2 separate regions of the Homo sapiens genome follow, and region 2 is linked to region 1. The links are contacts of gene promoters, found by promoter capture Hi-C in human tissues and cell types (Jung and others, 2019). All regions are on one chromosome and are shown on one strand. The core of a region is centred on a gene start or on the middle of the fragment in contact, and the rest is flanking DNA. Distances in the headings are between cores, read along the strand shown.

What was found. Contacts are between HindIII fragments. The study calls those that stand out against the background at their distance.
Region 2: a fragment that was not itself captured here is called in contact with the fragment with the promoter of AP3S2 in region 1 in 7 of the 25 tissues and cell types used here (IMR-90 fibroblasts, aorta, dorsolateral prefrontal cortex and 4 more).

Annotation. Positions count from the first base shown.
Region 1 is chr15:89,891,028-89,897,241 of GRCh38, forward strand. It overlaps AP3S2 (adaptor related protein complex 3 subunit sigma 2), which reads right to left and starts at 2,967. Exons shown (of 6, transcript NM_005829.5): 1 at 2,854-2,967. The coding sequence starts at 2,922. The region is part of intron 5 of ARPIN-AP3S2 (ARPIN-AP3S2 readthrough); the gene reads right to left. ARPIN (actin related protein 2/3 complex inhibitor) reads right to left here. Exons shown (of 6, transcript NM_182616.4): 6 at 3,979-6,214. RefSeq lists enhancers at 1,256-2,005, 2,998-3,147, 3,502-4,249. The HindIII fragment of the contact is 43,728 bases long and covers 1-6,214 here.
Region 2 is chr15:90,239,752-90,245,965 of GRCh38, forward strand. It overlaps GDPGP1 (GDP-D-glucose phosphorylase 1), which reads left to right. Exons shown (of 4, transcript NM_001013657.3): 4 at 1,149-6,060. The coding sequence starts at 1,158. The coding sequence ends at 2,315. It also overlaps a transcript of CIB1 not described here. Among named protein-coding and RNA genes, the nearest start is that of TTLL13, 6.7 kb to the right of the region's middle. The HindIII fragment of the contact is 7,306 bases long and covers 1-4,903 here.

The DNA of each region.
Region 1 (6,214 bases), core at 1,717-4,216:
CATGCTAAGCATCAGCACTTTTTAAAACTGACAAAGACATCTTTTGAACTAAAGCCTTTTATCTGACTCTGGGGGAAGTGGCAGCAGTGGGGAAGTGGTACGAAATGATGAGGCTACCTAATTTCTAGTTCAATAAAAAGGTAAACTACCAATTGCTTACATGCCTCAGTGATTTTAATAACCCCTCATATCTTTTTAGTACTCTGTAGTTTTCAAGGTACTTTCATCCATGAGCTCATGAGGTCTTATAAAAATCCTATGATCCAAAGATACACGAATGGGCAATAAGCACATGAAAAGATGCTCAACATCATTAGTCATTTTGGAAACTGAAATCAAAACCACAATGAGCTGGGTGCGGTGGCTCACGCCTGTAATCCCTGCACTTTGGGAGGCCAAGACGGGCAGATTACTTGTGGTCAGGAGTTCGAGACCAGCCTGGCCAACACAGCGAAACCCCATCTCTACTAAAAATACAAAAATTAGCCAGGCATGGTCGTGGGCACCTGTAATCCTAGCTACTCAGGAGACTGAGGCAGGAGAATCACTTGAACCCGGGAGGCAGAGGTTACAGTGAACCGAGATCACGCCACTGCAGCCTGGGAGATAGAGTGAGATTCAGTCTCGGAGGGAAAAAAAAAAGCCACAGTGAGATACCACTTTACACCCACTAAAATGTCTTTAACCAAAAATAAATAAATAAATAACGAATGGCAGGGATGTGAAGAAACTGGAATCATTATACATTGCTGATGGAAATGTAAAATGGTGCAGCCACTTGGAAAATTTGTCAAATAGTTTGCAGTTTCTCAAAATGTTCACCACAGTTACCATATGATCCAGCAATTCTACTCCTAGGTATATAACCAAGAGAAATGAAGTCATAAGTCCACATAAAAACTTGCACAAGAATGTTCATAGCAGCATTAATTAGAAGAGCCAAAAAGCAGAAATATCAACTTATAAATTGACAATCAAAATATGGCATATCCATATAATGGAATATTATTCAGCAATAAAAGAAATGAAGAACATCAGATACATGCTACAACATGGATGAATCTTGAAAACATTATACTACATGAAACATGGCAGACACACAAAAAACCACTTATTTATGATTCCATTTATAGGCAACGGAATAGGCAAATTCCATTTGCCATTCTGGAACTGGCAAATTTAGAGGGAAAGAAACTCTCTGGGGCTGGGAGAGTCATGGAGAAATAGGGAGTGACTGCTAATGGGCAGAGGTTTCTTTTTGGGGTGATGAAAATGATCTAAAATTGATTGTGGTGATGGTTACACAGCTTCTGTGAACATGCTAAAAAACACTGAATTGTCCCCTTTAAATAAGTAAACTGGGGCCGGACACAGTGGCTCATGCCTGTAATCCCAGCACTTTGGGAGGCTGAGTCCGGTGGATTGCTTGAGCCCAGGAGTTCAAGACCAGCCTGGGCAACATAGAAAGACCCCGTCTCTATAAGTAAATAACATAAAATAAATAAGTAAACAGTATGGCATGTTAGTTTTATCTCAGTAACCCTGTTAGAAAAAAACTAGGGGGGAAATTTGCATACACACAAATGCAAATACAAATAGTTACGCTGAATACTCATATACATACATATATATATATACTTTTTTGTGTGTGTGTGTGATGGAGTCTCGCTCTTTCGCCCAGGCTGGAGTGCAGTGGCGCTATCTTGGCTCACTGCAAGCTCCGCCTCCCGGGCTCACGCCATTCTCCTGCCTCAGCCTCCTGAGTAGCTGGGACTTGGAGGTGCCCGCCACCGCGCTTGGCTAATTTTTTGTATTTTTAGTAGAGACGGGGTTTCACCGTGTTAGCCAGGATGGTCTCCATCTCCTGACCTCGTGATCCGCCCGCCTCGGCCTCCCAAAGTGCTGGGATTACAGGCGTGAGCCACCGCGCCCGGCCTGAATACTCATATTTTTACCTCGATGTAATCTACTTAATAAAATGTAATCTAGCTTTAAAAATCTTATGAAGGAGTAAAATTATTTTTTCATTTCTAATTGACAAAAGACAATAAAAGTCTGAAAAGGGTTTATTAACTTGTCAACAGACGCAAGAGTAGAAAAGGTGGAGCTGAAGCCTGAACACGTTTTCTGGCTCTTTCCCCTCTTCAGTTCCACCAGTCCCCCAATTATGTAACATTTTGAAACCCTGCCATGAAGAAATATAATCTTCGAAGACAGGAAGCAAATACTGATGTTTATGTGTTTGCAAAGGAACGTGTTGGGAAAATTCAAATTTACGTAATCACTTATTGAGCCCTTATGCGGCAGCATTTATAATTTCTCATCATTTTTCCACTTTTAAACTGATTTTCTTCAACCCTAAGAGTGAAGGGTATCTAGTCTCTGGAAAGTCCCAGCCAACACTGAAGCAAAATAATTCCAAAAAAAAAAGAACTTTTCCAGTTCTGGCTATAACAAAAACTTTCAGAAACTTAATATTTCTTCCTCATGAAACTGTGGTCAACAACCAAAAAGATGACAGAATGTGACTTCAATCACTCAAGTTCTCATCGAGGCACACTCCCCACTGTCGCTTCTATCTCGTTCCCAGAGACCCACGGGAAAATGTCACAAAATGGCACAGAAATGCCAGGATCAAGAAAAGGGTCAGCGAGAGCGGGGCAGTAGGGCGGGAGACAGAAGGCCTGGCACCAGCCTGCGCCTAGATTAAATGCTTAAGTAGGGCGAGGGTCATGCTCGGTGCAGGAGCCCCAGGTGACCAAAGAGCGGTGCCCCCGGGCGCCGAGAGGCCAAAGAGGAGGGAAGACATAGTGGGCGCCCTGAAGGGGCGTGGTGAAGCCGGGCCGCACTCACGAAACGCTGGTAGAAGCGGACTAGCCGTGGCTTCCCATGGTTGTTGAAAACCAGAATCGCCTGAATCATCTTTGCCAGCCACGGTTCTCTCAGCACCGGCTACTCCCAGAAAGCTCCTCCTTCCGCCACAACACGATCACTTCCGGTTGGTGCGCTGCTGAGAGCGGCACTCGGAAACTTGGCCCCGGCGCTCACGAGCCCTAGCACCCAAGGGTCCGGCCTCTCTGACGCCTTGGAGGGCAGGTGCGGATGCCGAGGAGAGTGGTCACCTCGGCCAGCGTTGGTTGGCCAGTCAGGATGCGAATCCGGATCTATGTCCCTCGCCCAGACCGACGGCTGGCCCCAGAAGCCGAAACGACCGTCAGCCGGGTTGCCAAAACGGAGAGGCGGCGGGAGCTTGCTTTTCTCACCGCCCGCTCCAAATCATGCACTCCCGCCATCCCCTTAGCGCTCGCAGAACGTTCCGCGGAGTGGAGACGCCGGTCATTCGGCCGTTCGTCGGTTATGGAACATTTCGTTCATTTTAATTTTTCAGTATTATAATGCTGCAGTGAATTACGTAGCTGTCTCTCCGTGCAGATGGGCTGTTCCTCTATGGTAGACGGTGAATGGTGGAATTAAGGAATTTTTAGTGCATTTCCATTTAAAATCCCAAATCGATCAAGTTCTTATTTTTGTTTGTTCTTTTAATGACCCAGTGTGGGTGAAGTGGAGCATGTCCGTATACTGCAGATGGAGCAGCGGATACAGATGCAAATCGATCCAGAGGACTGTTTGGCGATATGGATCAGAAGCCTTTAAAATATATAACAGTCCGGGCGCGGTGGCTCACGCCTGTAATCCCAGCACTTTGGGAGGCCGAGGCGGGCGGCTCACTTGAGGTCAGCAGTTCGAGACCAGCCTGGCCAACAAGGTGAAACCCCGCCTCTACTAAAATTACAAAAATTAGCCGGTTGTGGTGGCGCGCGCCTGTAGTCCCAGATACTTGGGAGACTGAGGCAGGAGAATGGCTTGAACCCGGGAGGCGGAGGTTGCAGTGAGCTGAGATCACACCACACTGCACTCCAGCCTGGGTGACAGATATATAACATATATATATATATATATAAAACATTAGACTCAGCGTTTCCAGCTCTAGAATTTATGATAAAATGATTGTGGATGTGTGAAAAGATTTAGCCTGAGGAACATACATTTCTGCCAGAGTATCTTCAGAACAGTAAAAAAAAGAAGAAAAAAATATATATCTCAGCAGTGTTATTACAGGGGAAAATGGGAAGAAAATTATTACAAAAATGAGAAATTGGTTAAGTGCATTGTTCTACATTGAATATGAGAAATATTAAATAGATAATAAAAATCATGCTGGGAAAGATTTATGATACGGAAGTGTTCATGACACCTGTTAAGCTAAAAGATTACACAAAGTATGTACAGGGACAACCCACTTTGCTCAAGATTGGAGGCAAATACACCAAAATATGAATCATGTATCTGATGGAATGGCAGAGTCAGGGTGTTTGATCTGTACAGGACCCTGGAACCACACTGCCCTGATTCAAAGCATGGTTCTGCGGACTGCCTGGGCACCCTGGGCAAGTTTCCCCATCTGTAGAAAAGGTGTAATATCAGTTTCCTAAACTGGAAAACTGGAAAATGAGTCTACTGACTTCAGACAGTTGTTATAAACACAAAGGGAGTTAGTATAATATTTGTAAGCACTTGGACAGTGCATGGCACATAACTGAGTACCACATAAGTGATTTAAAAACATCTTTGGGTGGTAGGATTATCAAGTTTTCCTTTTTTTCCTTCAAAGAAATATGTACTACTTTTGCAGCCAGAGTTCTGGGGTTTGCTTGTTTGTTTTTCAGAGATAGGGTCTTACCCAGGTTGGAGTGCAGTGGCACAGTCATACCTCACTGTAACCTCAAACTGCTGGCCTCAGGCAATCCTCCAGCCTCAGTCTCCCAAACCGCCACCACGCCTAGTCCAGTTTTTTGTTTGTTTGTTTGTTTGTTTGTTTGAGATGGAGTCTCACTCTGTTGCCCAGGCTGGAGTGCAGTGGCACAATCTTGGCTCACTGCAACCTCCGTCTCCCGGGTTCAAACAATTCTCCTGCTTCAGCCTCCCCAGTAGCTGGGATTACAGGCACATGCCACCATGCCCAGCAAATTTTTGTATTTTTAGTAGAGATGGGGTTTCACCACATTGGCCAGTCTGGTCTCAAACTCCTGACCTCAAGTGATTCACCCATCTCAGTCTCCCGAAGTGCTGGGATTACAGGCGTGAGCCACTGCGCCCGGCATGGCCCAGTTTTTAAATAAATAAAAACCAAAAGTCAGTTGCACTGAAACTTGACAAAATGTTTAAAATGTTGAGGAAGAATATCAAAGAAAATTCTGAAACAGAATTATGAAGAAGAACTAGCTCTGCCAACTATGAAAACCTACTTTGATGGTTCAAATTGTAATTATAGGAAGAATAACTGAAATATTATAAATAATTTAGGCATAAAATAATTTTAATATGTGATGTAGGAGTGGGAAGGAATTCAGTAAATACTATTAGGATAACTGGTTAGCAATTTGAAAATAAGTAGTTAGGTATAAAACCAGATAATAACCTAAACAGAAGAAAGCGAAATTGAATAAGATCCAAAAATCTGTATTAGCTTAGAAGCAATAAAAATCACAAAACATCAACAGATATATAAAGTTTTTTTATAAAAAGAATTATTTAATGGAAAAATCGTTGTTAAAATATGGCAAATGGTTATATTTAAAATGCAAATAACTGATAAACTAAAAAGATAACACTCCCCATCTCCCCAGTAGATAAATGGACGAAAGAACGAATAACAAAGGGAGAAATACAGCTAGGAAAAGGAAAAAATGTTTAAGCTCACTATAAGTGGGGGAAAGGCAAATTAAAATATATTCAAATATTATTTTCACCTCATCAAAAATCATTTTAAAAATGTTTTCATACCCAATTCTCACAAGGGCAGCATAAAAATGGTTCTCCCCTACATTGCTGGTGAAATTATGGTTTAGAACAACCCTTTTGGGAAGCAATTTGGCAATATAACAAGAACTTTGCAAAAGATTTCTAGATTCTCAGTAATATGACTCCTGGGCATCTGTTCCTAAAGAAATAACCCAAAAATATAGTTAGAGGTGGGGAATTAAGAGAACTATATAATTTTCAACATTTTTGGAAACATTAATTCTGTTAGCCACACAGGGATCAATTTTAAATATCCAAAAGTTGGACCATGACAGAACTATCCAATGGTAGCAATCTTAAAAATAATGGTTACAGGTGGGCGTGGTGGCTCACGCCTGTAATCCCAGCAATT
Region 2 (6,214 bases), core at 1-2,500, 350 kb after region 1:
AGGCTGGACTGCAATGGTGCGATCTCGGCAGTGCCTGGTGGCACATGCCTGTAGTTCCAGATACTTGGGATGCTGAGGTGAAAGAATCCCTTGAGCCTGGGAGGTCAAGGCTTCAGGGAGACATGTATGCACCACTGCACTCCTGCCTGGGTGACAGAGTGAGAACCTGTTTCAAAATAAAATAGGCCGTGGCTGGGCGCAGTGGCTCACACCTGTAATCCCAGCACTTTGGGAAGCCGAGGTGGGTGGATCACCTGAGGTCAGGAGTTCAAGACCAGCCAGACCAACATGGTGAAACCCTGTCTCTACCAAAAATACAAAATTAGCTGGCTGTGGTGGCACATTCCTATAATCCCAGCTACTTGGGAGGCTGAGGCCAGAGAATCGCTTGAACCTGGGAGGTAGAGGTTGCAGTGAGCCAAGATAGCGCCATTGCACTCCAGCCTGGGTGACAGAGTGATAAATAAATAAATAGGCCAGGTGCAGTGGCTCAGGCCTGTAATCCCAGCACTTTGGGAAGCCGAGAGGGGAGGGTCACCGGAGGTCAGGAGTTCAAGACCGGCCTGGCCAATGTGGTGAAACCCTGCCTCTACTAAAAATACAAAAATTAGCCGGGCCTGGTGGCGGGTGCCTGTAATTCCAGCTGCTTGGGAGGCTGAGGCATGAGAATCACTTGAACCCAGGAGGTGGAGGTTGCAGTGAGCCAAGATCGCGCCACTGCCCTCTAGCCTGGGCAACAGAGTGAGACTCTGTCTCAAAAAAATAAAAATAAATAAATAAGCTGTGCATGTTGGTTCATGCCTGTAATCCCAGCACTTTGGGAGGCCAAGGCAAAGGGATCACCCGATGTCAGGAGTTCAAGACCAGCCTGGCCAACATGGTGAAACACCATCTCTACTAAAAATACAAAAATTACCCGGGCATGGTGGTGCCTGCCTGTAACCCCAGCTGCCCAGGAGGCTGAGGCGGGAGAACCGCTTGAACCCAGGAGGCGGAGGTTACAGTGAACCAAGATCACTGCCACTGCACTCCAGCCTGGGTGACAGAGTGAGACTCCATCTCAAAAAAAAAAATAAATAAATAAATACAATGACAATCTCTGGAGGTGGGTTACCATCATGTGTTTTCATCTTTTATGACTATTTCAGGTCAGCTCTATGGCTCTTCCACATGATTCAAACGAAACTTCCTATTTGCTGCCTCCCAACAATGAGGACTGGGGCAGGCAAACCATTCCTGACTTTGTTTATGGGCAGAAGGATCTCATGGCAGAAGGGATTCAGTGGCCAAGGAATGCACCTGGCATCCCAGATGCTCTGCCACAATCTCCCTTTGATGCTGCACTCTGCTCTGCCTGGAAGCAGCGGGTGGAGCTGGGGCTGTTTCGCTACCGTCTACGGGAGCTACAGACCCAAATCCTCCCTGGTGCTGTGGGTTTCGTGGCTCAGCTGAATGTGGAGCGTGGTGTGCAGAGGAGGCCCCCGCAGACCATCAAGAGTGTGAGGCAGGCATTTGACCCTGTACAGTTCAACTTCAACAAGATCCGGCCCGGAGAAGTCCTCTTCCGTTTGCACCGGGAGCCTGATCTCCCTGGGACTCTGCTGCAAGAAGACATCCTGGTGGTGATCAACGTCAGCCCCCTGGAGTGGGGCCACGTGCTGCTGGTGCCTGAGCCTGCCCGCCAGCTCCCCCAGCGCCTGCTGCCGGGTGCACTGAGGGCAGGGATTGAGGCTGTGCTGCTGAGCTTACACCCGGGCTTCCGTGTCGGCTTCAACAGCCTGGGAGGCTTGGCCTCGGTGAACCACCTCCACCTGCATGGCTATTACCTGGCCCACAGACTGCCCGTGGAGCAGGCGCCAAGCGAGCCCCTGGACCCTGGAGGCCATTTGCATCTGCTCCAGGACCTCCCAGCTCCTGGCTTCCTCTTTTACACTCGTGGGCCAGGGCCTGACTTGGAGTCCTTGATAAGCAGGGTATGTCGGGCCACTGATTATCTGACTGACCATGAGATTGCTCATAACTTGTTTGTCACCCGGGGAGCTCCGCCGGGAAAGACATCACCTTCCTCAGCCCTCACAGGGGTCCGAGTAATTCTGTGGGCCCGGAAGTCCAGCTTTGGGATAAAGGACGGTGAAGCTTTCAATGTTGCCCTCTGTGAGCTGGCTGGGCACCTCCCTGTCAAAACATCCCAGGACTTCAGCAGCCTGACAGAGGCAGCTGCTGTGGCCCTCATTCAGGACTGTCGGCTGCCCCCATCCCAGGCAGAAGACGTACAGGCAGCACTGGTGGCCCTGATGTCCCAGGAAGAGCAATAATACTTCTGGATGTATTTATGTTCTTTTTTTCTTTTCTTTTGAGATAGGGTCTCACTCTGTCCCCAGGCTAGAGTGTAGTGGTATGATCCTGGCTCACTGTAGCCTCCACCTCTGGGGCTGAAGTGATCCTCCCACCTCAGCCTCTTGAGTAGCTGAGACTATAGGCGTGCACCACCACACACCTGGCTTTTTTTTTTTTTTTTTTTTTTTTTAACGATTAGGTGATTTTGTATTTTTTTATATAGACAGCGTTTCACCATGTTGCCCAGGCTGGTCTTGAACTCTTGGGCTGAAGCAGTCCTCCCACCTCGGCCTCCCAAAGTACTGAGATGACAGGAGTGAGCCCCTGGATTCTTTTCTGTTTCTTTTTTTTTTTTTTTTTTTTTTTTTTTTTTTGAGATAGTCTCGCTCTGTCACCTAGGTTGGGGTGCACTGGTACAATCTCGGCTCACTGCAACCTCCACCTCTAGGGTTCGAGTGATCCTCCTGGCTCAGCCTCCCGAGTAGCTGGGACTATACAGGCTCCTGCCACCAAACCCGGCTAATTTTTTTGTATTTTTAAAAGAGAAGGGGTTTCACCACATTGGCTAGGCTGGTCTTGAACTCCTGACTTTAGGTGATCCGCCCGCCTCGGCCTCCCAAAGTGCTGGGATTACAGGCGTGAGCCACCACACCCAGCCAGGATGTATTCATTTTCTACCTGATGAGTCCCTTTCCAGAGCACTGTCCATCATAGTCCTTTGGACATTTATTTTCATGGCTGCCTTCTCACCTGTCTCAGCCTAAGAAGAAGGATGAAGAAAGCTGATAATGATCTCTTAAAGGGGAGAAAGATAATGGTCTCTTTAAAGGGGAGCTGATAGTGGTCTCTTTAAAGGGGAGAAAATCTGGAATAATTCTACTGAGTAAGACATCATGAATGTATCTGCTACCTCTCCCCGTTCTTGTTCAAGCCCCAGGGGTGTTAAAAAGGAGTGTGTGTGACAGTTACACACTCCTGACTTTACATTTAGATTTTGTCTTCCTTTGATATCAAATGTTAGCACGGTAATAGTGCCTGTGCCTCCAGTATTGAGCTGCCACTTCTGTTCTCAGCCTGTTTATTCCCCTTTGCTCACCACTTATTTTTATTGCTTTGTCCCTTCTTTCCATTTAGCCCTGCTCCACCCAAATGCCCCACTCCTTCACTTTCCCTGCCACCTTGAGCTTTCCTCTAGCCCCCAACACCAAGTTGAATGCTCTTCACTGACATCATCTGATGTAAAAACACAGTGTTGTCACAACTTTCCGGGTGCACGTCTTTTTTTGTTTTGTTTTTTTGTAAGGCTGGGGTGCAGTGGTGCAATCACAGCTCACTGCAGACCCAAACTCTTGGTCTCAAGCCACCCTCCCACCTCAGCCCCCTGAGTAGCTGGGACGATAGGTGTGCACCATCACACCTGGCTAATTTTTAAATTTTTTGTAGAGATAGGGTCTTGCTATGTTGCCCGGGTTGCTGTCAAACTCCTGGCCTTAAGAAATCCTCCCACCTCGGCCTCCCAGAGTGCTAAGATGCCACCACACCTTGGTGCAGGTTTTTTTTTTTTTTTTTTTTTTTTTTTTTTGACACAGGGTCACTGTCACCCAGGCTGGAGTGCAGTGGTATGAAGACAGCTAACTGCAAGCTTCAACCTCCTGGGCTCAAACAATACTCCCATCTCAGCCTCCCTAGTAGCTGGGACCACAGGCATGCGCCACCACACCCGGCTATTTTTTTGGAGAGATAGCATCTTGCCAAGTTGCCCAGGCTGGTCTCGAACTCCTGGCCTCAAGATCCTCCCACCTCAGCCTCCCAAAGTGCTGAGATTATAGGCATGAGCCACTGCACCTGGCCTGAGTTTTTTTTTTTTTTTCTTGAATCAGAGTTTCACTCTGTTGCCCAGGCTGGAGTGCAGTGGTGTGATCTCGGCTCACTGCGTCTCTGCCTCCTGGGTTCAAGCAATTCAGCCTGAGTCTTCTTAATACCCCCATTCAAAACGGGATGGAGACTGACAGTTTGTACTTTGTTCAAGGTCAGGCAGCTGGAGTCGGGACTGCAGCACAGGCAGGTACCAGAAGATGAGCTGGGACAATGTGTGCTTGTGACCGCCTCTCCAGTCAGTGGTTCCCATGGTGGGTAGCACTGTCCTTAACAGTTTGCCCTCCCTGAGCCTCAGCCATCCCTCTTGGGGTCTTTCCCAAGCACTTTAGAAGCTCCTCTTGATGTAGACACAAAATCCAAAGCTAAGTCGTTGTTCCTCCGTCTGCATCTGAGTCAATGTGGGAAATTTTTTTTTATCTCATTGCTTTGTTCTGTCCTGTTTCTCCAGACATTTCACACTGGTTCCAGAGGAACTAGTCAGTAGACACTATTCTAAGAGAGTATGTGGGTGTGAAATCTCATTTTCCTTTTAGCTCCCTTGAATGTTATACAGCAAAAGTAAAAGAAGTCTTGGGTTGGCTGGGCACGTTGGCTCACACCTTTAATCCTAGCACTTTGGGAAGCCGAGGCAGGCAAATCACTTGTCAGGAGTTCGAGACCAGCCTGGCCAACATGGTGAAACCCCATCTCTACTAAAAATACAAAAATTAGGCGTTGTGGCGGCCACCTGTAATCCCATCTACTTGGGAGGCTGAGGCAGGAGAATCACTTGAACCCAGGAGGCGGAGGTTGCAGTGAGCTGAGATTGCACGACTGTACTCCAGCCTGGGCGATAGTGCGAGACTCAGTCTCAAAATAAATAAATACATAAAGTCTTGGGTCCAGCTCTCAACAGAGATTATCACCGCCACCACTCCTTCATCAAACATCCTGAAGGAATGAGAGTCCCTGTTCACAGCGTAAGGGTGAAAGGGGGCTCACACAGGTGGGTTCTGGCTGCTGTCTGAGTGGGCTCACCCAGGAGGGGTTTTGATTTCTCTGCCTCCCAAACTGTGGGTCCTAGCCCTGGCTTAGGCCTTCAGGTCGTTGGCTCCCTATACCTAGGCCTGTATAAAGCCTTAGTTTCCAGTTTTCATTAGAGGTTTTACATCCCAAATGATGTTACAAAGTCTCCCTGTGATAAAGCAGAATATGTGTCCATAGCCCATTTTATAAGAAAAACAGTTTAGGCCAGGTGCGGTGGCTCACGCCTGTAATCCCAGCACTTTGGGAGGCTGAAGCAGGCAGATCACAAGGTCAGGAGTTCAAGACCAGCCTGGCCAACATGGTGAAACCCCGTCTCTACTAAAAACACAAAAATTAGCTGGGTGTGGGTGCACATCTATAGTCCCAGCTACTCAGGAGGCTGAGGCAGGAGAATCGCTTGGACCTGGGAGGCGGAGGTGGCAGTGAGCCGAGATCGCGCCACTGCACTCCAGCCTGGGCGGCAGAGAGAGACTTTGTCTCAAAAAAAAAAAAAAAGAAAAAAACAGTTTACCATTCTATCAGAAAATGTTGACCACCCTCATATTTTTGGTAAACTGCAGTAATTTTTCCTTAATACTTTTTGCAAGCTTTTGCATGCATAAGCTCCAGTATCACACTTAATTTTGCTTGCTTGCTCTCTGAAGGGAGTTCGGATGACCATTACAGCAAAGTGGATTTTGCGTTCAAAGTGATAAGCCAAATATCAGGATTTTCCCAGTTTCTCCGTAGGACTGATGTTTAGAGGAAAGCCTTCCCTGACTCAAATATGTTTCTCCATATAAAAAGGGGAAAGTAAAATGGGTTTTCTTTCTGGTGGTATTTCTCAGCTATTTATATGCTTTGTGAATCTTCAAGAAGAGCATTTGGACTGCAGCTTTTTCTACTGAGTAGGAAACACGTAGGGGCCCTTTGTACTCCGAGCCCTGGGCTTTGAGTATGGTAGGAAGTGCTGACCCAGCCCAGGACCTCCCCA